Linked DNA regions of Homo sapiens: region 1 is linked to region 2. The links are contacts of gene promoters, found by promoter capture Hi-C in human tissues and cell types (Jung and others, 2019). All regions are on one chromosome and are shown on one strand. Each heading gives the region's core, a stretch centred on a gene start or on the middle of the fragment in contact. The rest is flanking DNA. Distances are from core to core; before and after follow the strand shown.

The links. Contacts are between HindIII fragments. The study calls those that stand out against the background at their distance.
Region 1: a contact is called between a fragment that was not itself captured here and the fragment with the promoter of NKX2-4 in region 2, in 1 of the 25 tissues and cell types used here (mesendoderm cells).

Annotation. Positions count from the first base shown.
Region 1 is chr20:21,708,258-21,711,824 of GRCh38, forward strand. It overlaps PAX1 (paired box 1), which reads left to right. Exons shown (of 5, transcript NM_001257096.2): 3 at 301-443; 4 at 965-1,187. Among named protein-coding and RNA genes, the nearest start is that of PAX1, 4.4 kb to the left of the region's middle. The HindIII fragment of the contact is 4,854 bases long and covers 1-3,567 here.
Region 2 is chr20:21,395,400-21,399,012 of GRCh38, forward strand. It overlaps NKX2-4 (NK2 homeobox 4), which reads right to left and starts at 2,127. Exons shown (of 2, transcript NM_033176.2): 1 at 1,559-2,127; 2 at 1-1,134. The coding sequence starts at 2,000. The coding sequence ends at 512. LOC105372558 (a long non-coding RNA gene) reads left to right here and starts at 2,535. Exons shown (of 4, transcript XR_001754528.1): 1 at 2,535-3,177. The HindIII fragment of the contact is 9,137 bases long and covers 1-3,613 here.

The sequences.
Region 1 (3,567 bases), core at 715-3,214, 310 kb after region 2:
GGACAATGGAGCGGCCGCTTTGGCCGAGTCTGCCCAGGCTTTGACTCAGCAGCAGCCTCCCGTTCGTGGGAAACCGGTTGAAGGCTAGGAGGACCGGGCAGCAGGCCTGGCTGCCTTTCCTCCGCCCCACCCGGAGTGGTGAACATTCCAGTCCCTGCCGCCTCCTGGTGGAGTGTCAGGCCACCTACAAATTTTGTGGGACCCCTGGCCGTGTCTTCAGATACAAATTGGGTGGTTGGCCACACGTGTGCCCAGGGCAGATTCGGAGGCACCTTTTAATCCGTCCTCTCTCTCCTGCAGGGGCCCTGGCTGGGAGCGAAGGCACCGCTTACTCTCCCAAGATGGAAGACTGGGCCGGCGTGAACCGCACGGCCTTCCCCGCCACCCCCGCAGTGAATGGGCTAGAGAAACCTGCCTTAGAGGCAGACATTAAATACACTCAGGTAACCAGGAGGCACGTGAGGCCGTGACCTTAAGTAGGGAAGCAGAAGGTTTGGGCAAGTGGGGAAAAAGAGAGAGAAAGAAAAGAAAAAATTTCCAGGCAGAGAGATGGTTGTATCTGGCAGCCGGCTAGCAAGCGTCCTTTCTGTCCTTTCCTCAAGCGTACTAGTTTGGGAGAGTCTGACTTTAGAGGGGTTGACTTGCCTTTGCCAAGATAGCTTAGCTAAAAAAAGCTGGAACTCCAGATGACGAATCCACAGTCAAGGGCCTTCTTTCTCTAAATCCCGATATGAATACCATGACCCCTTCACATCGTTATTTGTAACAGTTTGAGTGAATTCTTAGAAATCACTTTGCCAAAGAGTCCTGACTAGGAAATTTAGAGGCCAGGCCTCGCATGGGGATAATGGATGGGCACAGGACGTGGGGGAGCGATAATGGACGAAAACCCCCGTCTCAGTGATGGCGTGGGCTAGAGAAGGCAGGATTTTCTGCTGCTGACGGTCCCTCTCTATCCCCACAGTCGGCCTCCACCCTCTCTGCCGTGGGCGGCTTTCTCCCCGCCTGCGCCTACCCGGCCTCCAACCAGCACGGCGTGTACAGCGCCCCGGGCGGCGGCTACCTCGCCCCGGGCCCGCCGTGGCCGCCTGCGCAAGGTCCTCCTCTGGCGCCCCCCGGGGCCGGCGTAGCTGTGCATGGCGGGGAACTCGCGGCAGCAATGACCTTCAAGCATCCCAGCCGAGAAGGTGAGGAGCGCAGGGAGTGGGGCGGGTGGATGCTGGAAGGGTTAGGAAGGGTACTGGGGAGCGGGTGTGAGCCTGGGAAAAGGGAGAGCGGGTGGGGAAGAGGTGGGTCCTGGGCATGAACCCTTCTTCTGGGTTAACCTTTGAGCATGTAGCTTCTTGGAGCAGATTAGTTCTGACAGGTGTCCCTATAAAGGTACCCGAGGTTGAGAGAGACTGGCCCCAAGACTGTCCCCTCCACTTATGATGGGAGAGGTGAAAGGAGGTCCTTCTGGCACACAGGACGCGTGGGTTTGGATCCGGTTCTGGCACCTTCGACCAAGTTCCTGCTTCTTTCTGGGTTTCTGTTTCTCCATCCAGAGACACGTCTAGCAGGCACCCTCCAGGCTCACCTTTCTGTAGACCTGTTCTGGCACCTAAGCCCTTTAGGTGGGGTTGGACTTGCTAGTGGCACCTAACCTCCATCCCCAGACCCTTCCCGTCTCTGCCCCACTGCCCATCTGTTTTTTCCAGGTTCCTTAGAGAGAAAAAAAGGCGTTTGGATTCTTTTTCTTAAATACACACTGTGGGAAAGTAGAGGCCATGTGAATCAGTGTCCTTTACTCCAGGCTCAGGAGCTTTCTGTGGTTGTGGGTGGTGGTGGTGGTGGGCGGGTGGGGGGGTTCTCTCTTTCTGTGGAAAATGTGCCTGGGAGTCTTGCCTCCTTTTCCGCTTCCTCCTTCTCTTCCTTTTCCATAAGTCCACTTCCTGAAAAGTCGAGGAACAGATTTTAGGTATTTCACTGACAGTCAGCAGTGTGAGGGGGATCTTCTCACACAACCAGGAGGGTTCCAGTTTTTCCTTTAACTTGGGAAAAGCTCACCAGCCCTTGAGTCCTCATTTTCTTTGTTGTTAAAAGGAATGGCTTGATTTGCTAAGTTCAAACTTGCCAGTGCTTAGGTTCTGAGCACCAGAAATTTGCAACTTCAACCAACCTGGGAAAGGAAAGGGTCACCCCAGGTCGTCCCAGCCCCAGCAGAGAAAGAGACAAGGCACAAACCTGGGGGACAGCGTGGAGTTCCCAGATTATAAAAGGATTTTTACTAGCTGCTTTGCCTCCACCTGTCCAGGGCTGGAAGCGAGGTGGATGTAGTGGCAGGTGGCAGTGGGCAGGCAGGGGACAGGAGGGCCATCCTCCTTGGTGCTGCCCAGGCAAAAAGTGCTATTTCCAAGTAGTCTTGATAAGATAGGAGGGCATGCCCTGGGGAGTGGGGGTGGGGTGGGGGGCAGGAAGGAAATAAAGATGCCATCCACAACAGTGAAATGAAGGGAGAAAAATACTTTTTCTATTTCTACCTTTCCTAGAGCACAGACATCCTGGGATATTAGGATAATGTTCACTTGCCTAGTTACAGACAAATCCAAATAAGGAAAATTTATAAAAATTGGGATTTAGAGCTCTTTTAAACTTTAAGTTTAATTTAAATAGGATACTATCATTTACTCATTTATAGAAAAATCCAAGTGAAGGAAATGTTAAAAGTTGAGAGTAAGAACTCCTTTAAGCTTTATGTTTAAGGATAGTTAAGGGGTCGCAGATGAGCGCTTCACTCATCCTCAGCCTCCAATCAACCTGTTTTCTCAACAACTGAGGTTATCTGTCGAAATCGAAATCAAAATAAAATTTACCACATTACACAAATCACTTAAATAAGCAGGTTCTTTTGAATTAAAAATGTATAACCACAGATTTGAAATATTTCACTGGGTTCATCTTAAGGAGAAGGAAGACTTAGAAAAAAGACCCACAGTCTTCAGAGGAATGCATTTGTTTTCAATAGAGCCACTTTGCCCTGGAGGCATTTTAAGCTCTACATTAGACACAAATTATAAAGTGCAGATAATAAGCCAAAGGTAACACACACAGTTCCTAATTCTAAACTACCTGTCTTAATTTGTGGTGGAAGTTGCGGGGAAGCTGATTTTAACATTAAGCCTCACTGGTGATTGATTTTCTTTAGAAGACACTTTCCTTTTCAGAAATACAGGGTCATTGAATGGTGCTGGCATAAGTCCCTTTTACCATTATATCAGTTTCCTATTATGTAATATCCCACCTGTTTTTAAAAGCTACAGCAATAATTTGTTACTCTAGTTATTAAATTAATAATTTAATTTTGTGGTCCTCCAACTTCTTTAAAGGTTCTAATAAAAGATAATCAGATAACTTGGGGACACCATTAGCAATGATTTCTCAAGCTGGCATGCAACTGTTTGTGTTCGAACAGGAATGTAGAAATAATCATTCATTATCTATCTATATTCATAGCCTGAGAATTACATACATGCTTGGGTTATGGATTTTTACTCCTTACTGGTAGAACAGCTGACTTCAAAGATCTAT
Region 2 (3,613 bases), core at 877-3,376:
GCAATAATTCCTCTGCAATAATGTTGCTATGTGTATGATCCACCTTGAGCTACACTTCAATTTACTTTCAATCAAACATTAATGAAATTGCACTTAGGGGGCCCTTCGAAAATTAATCTCCCAAGATAAATTCCACTTCAAAAAGGACTGATTGTTAAAGCTGGGTTGATTTTTATAGTTACAAACGCCAACAAAGTTTCCAACTTTGAGAGCTGTAGTTAAGAATGCCGTGTGAACTTCTCCACCTTTTCGCGTCATTTAAGAACTTCTAGGAGGAGAAAATCACCACCTCAAAGCCTCGTGGCATAATGTTACACTACTCGGTTTCCGGGCTGTCGCTGTCCCCCGCCCCCAGCAAGAGGTTCACAGCCTGCTCCTCTCTGAGACCGGTTCGTTTTGAATCGCAGTTTACACGCGCGAGTCGGTTTTCGCATGCCTCCCCCATCCGTTCTAGCAGTTTCTTGCAGACCCTTCGGGTGCACCAGGACCTAGCCCCGGGGCGCCCTCGCTGTCACCACGTCCTGCCATAGAGCAGGTTGGCGCCCAGGACGCCGCCGCTGTACTCCCCGGCGGCCGCGTCCAGGGCCGCCAGGCCGCCCCCCGGGCCGTGCAGCGCGGGTGGGCTGGGCGACAGCTCCTCCAGCTCAGGTGCTGGCGTCGGGGCCGGCGGCTGCGGACCGGCCTGGCCGGGGGTGGGCGTGCTGGCGCCGTTCTGGCACGGCTTGCCGTCCTTGACCAGCACAGGCACCGCCACGCGGCGCGGGGACGGCGGCGGAGGCGGCGGCGGGCCCAGGCCGCCCTCCTGCTGCAGCTGCTGCGCCGCCTTGTCCTTGGCCTGCCGTTTCATCTTGTACCGGTGGTTCTGGAACCAGATCTTGACCTGCGTGGGCGTCAGGTGGATCATGCTGGCCAGGTGCTCGCGCTCGGGCGCCGACAGGTACTTCTGCTGCTTGAAGCGCCGCTCCAGCTCGTAGACCTGCGCCTGCGAGAAGAGCACGCGGCGCTTCCTTCGCGGAGCGGCTGCCGCCGCCGCCGCGTGCAGCGGGCCCAGCGACTTGGCGGCGTCCGCGATGCCGGTCAGCGACCCCATGCCGGCCACATTCACGCCCGCCGACGGCCCCATGAACCTGGAGACTGGGGAAGAGTCCCAAGGGGGAAGGCGAGTGAGCTCCAGGCCCGCCGGGAGCCGGTCCAGCCGCCGCTCTCTTCACGCCGCGGCCGCGACGCCGCCGGGCCCTCGCTGAATCCCAAGACCCCCTGACCGCCGCGGCCTCCGGCCCCAGCACGCCCCGCGCGCCCTCGGCGGGTCCCAGAGCACCACGCCCTCAACGGGTCCCAGGACGCCGCGCGCGTTCCCGGTCAGGTCCCAGGACCCCCCGCGCGCCCAGGGTCCCCAGAAACCCCGCGCGTCCCGGGCCGCGTCCCAGGACGCCCCGCGCGCCCGCTCGGCCCCAGGACCTCCTAAGCCGCGCGCACCCCGTCCCGCGCCCCCGCGCCCCTCGGCTGTGGCGGGAAACGCCTGAGCCGCCCGCAGCCCCGCGCTCCTGGCCCCTCTCACTTGACGAGTAGCGTGGGTCCGGGTTGGCGCCGTACCAGCCGGTGGCCGCGCCGCCCCGCATGCCGTCCGTGTAGGCGGGCAGCTCGCCCATGTTGCCCAGGCCGCCGTTGCAGTAGCTGCCCATGGCGCCGTGCGGGAACTGCGAGACGCCGGGCGGCATGTGGTAGGTGGCGGCCGCCGCCGCCGCAGCTGCTGCCGCCGCCGCCGCGGCCGCCGCGTTGTGACCCGCCATGGCGTGAGAAGGCTGCATGCCCGCCACGGTCGCCGCCTGCGAGGAGGGCCCAGGTGGCGGCGCGCGGTAGGCGGCCGCGGCCCCCAGGGGCGCCCCCAGGCCGGGTGGCGCGCCGTCCATGGCGCCGCTGAACTTCTTGTAGGTCTCCTCGATGGGGCTCAGGATGTCGGACACGGAGAAGGGCGTCGTGTGCTTTGGGCTCAACGACATGGCTCGGCGGGCAGCCAGGTAGGGGGGCCTGGGGCGCGCGCCGGCAGGACGCGGCGGCCGCTCGTCGCCGCCACCTCGGCCGCGGCAGCTGAGCCTGTGACGAGGAGTCGGCGGCTCGGCGAGCCCCCCGGGCTGCGGGATCTGGGGTTTATTTTAGTCCGGCGCCAGGTTTACGACAGACTCGGGGGGCGGAGCAACATCCCAAACGAGCAAACAATGGTCATTGACATCTTTTTCTCTCGCCCCCCCAACCCCCGCCCCATAATGGAGGCAAAAAAAGGTAAAAGGGGCAGTTGGGTGTTTCTTGGAAAGATCACTCCCCGTTGCTTTTCCCATCTTTGCTTTTCCCATCCTTTGCTTTTCCCATCCTTCGCTCCTCCATCCGCGGCCGTTACCCCAGCCCTCGAGCACCAGAAATAGAAACTCGGAGGCTGGCGTCGAGGCTAGACATGGACTCCGCGCCTGGCCCCTTCCAGATCCCAGTTTTCTAAAGTGACTTCGCACCAAAGTCCGGTATAATTGCGGAATGGGGAACGTGCTGCTAAGTTTGGGGGGAGGGTGTTGCGGGGGCTTGCTTCGTCCTCTCCAGTTATCAGCCCCTCATTCGCTCCATCACCTAAAGTGTTAAAAAAAAAAAAAAAGGCTCTTGGGTCCCACCGTAAGAGCGCATAAAGAGAGGAGGTACAATGACCGTCCTTTGCCATTGTAGGGCTCCCTAATTTATGCGTTTTTAGACCCTTAAGCATCATTTTGTGGGCAACCAAACGGGCACTTCCAAATTAGCTCAAAGTATCCAAGCCCAGAGAAGAGAGAAAACACACATACACTGATAAATACGCAGATGCTAACTTGTAAGTATTCTGTTTTTCCTCTGTGGGGATGGAAATTGAACAAGGGAAAGAGGGGGAACATTTTTATTTCCTAAAATGTTTCCTACTGAGTTTGCACTTGTAAAGTTTTTTCTGCTTTCTTTCCCTTTGTGTGTGTTCTTACTCTCTTTCTCTCAGTAAATATCTCTGACTTAAGTTTATTCTCCCATCACTACCGTGATCAAAAAGAAGAGAAAGACAAAATATCAAAACTTCCAAATATTTCTAGTTGTTCGCAACGGGTCTTTTTGTTGTTGTTGGAAAAATATAACCTGTTCAAGCGATATGAAAATGGATGCAGAAATCAGGTGAAAATTGTAGTTTCTTTGGAAAAATACAAAACCATAGATAAACAGATTTTTAAAACTTTGTCATCCTTTGACTTGCAGTTTTACCCGAATACTTAGACATTATGAACTCTCTACTAAATACTGAACAAGACAAAGCATAAGACAAAAGCAGTGTGCAAAGCATATTGATTAAATTTTGAAAACAATCTTGCAGCAATAATAATGATAACGAGAAAACAAAGATAACACTTTTAAGTTTTCCTGGAAACTGGAGCAGGAGAAAGAAAAACAAGGAGAGTGCTTTCTTAAGCAATATTTTGTTTTATTTTTTTTCCAGAAAAGGGTGTGTGGAATCGATTTAAGTTTAACCTGACAGTACATGTCTTGAAGGCAAGAACAGTGTTACATATTCCTTTTTCTGTTTGGTTTTAGCCCTTTGGTGGAAATGTTCTCC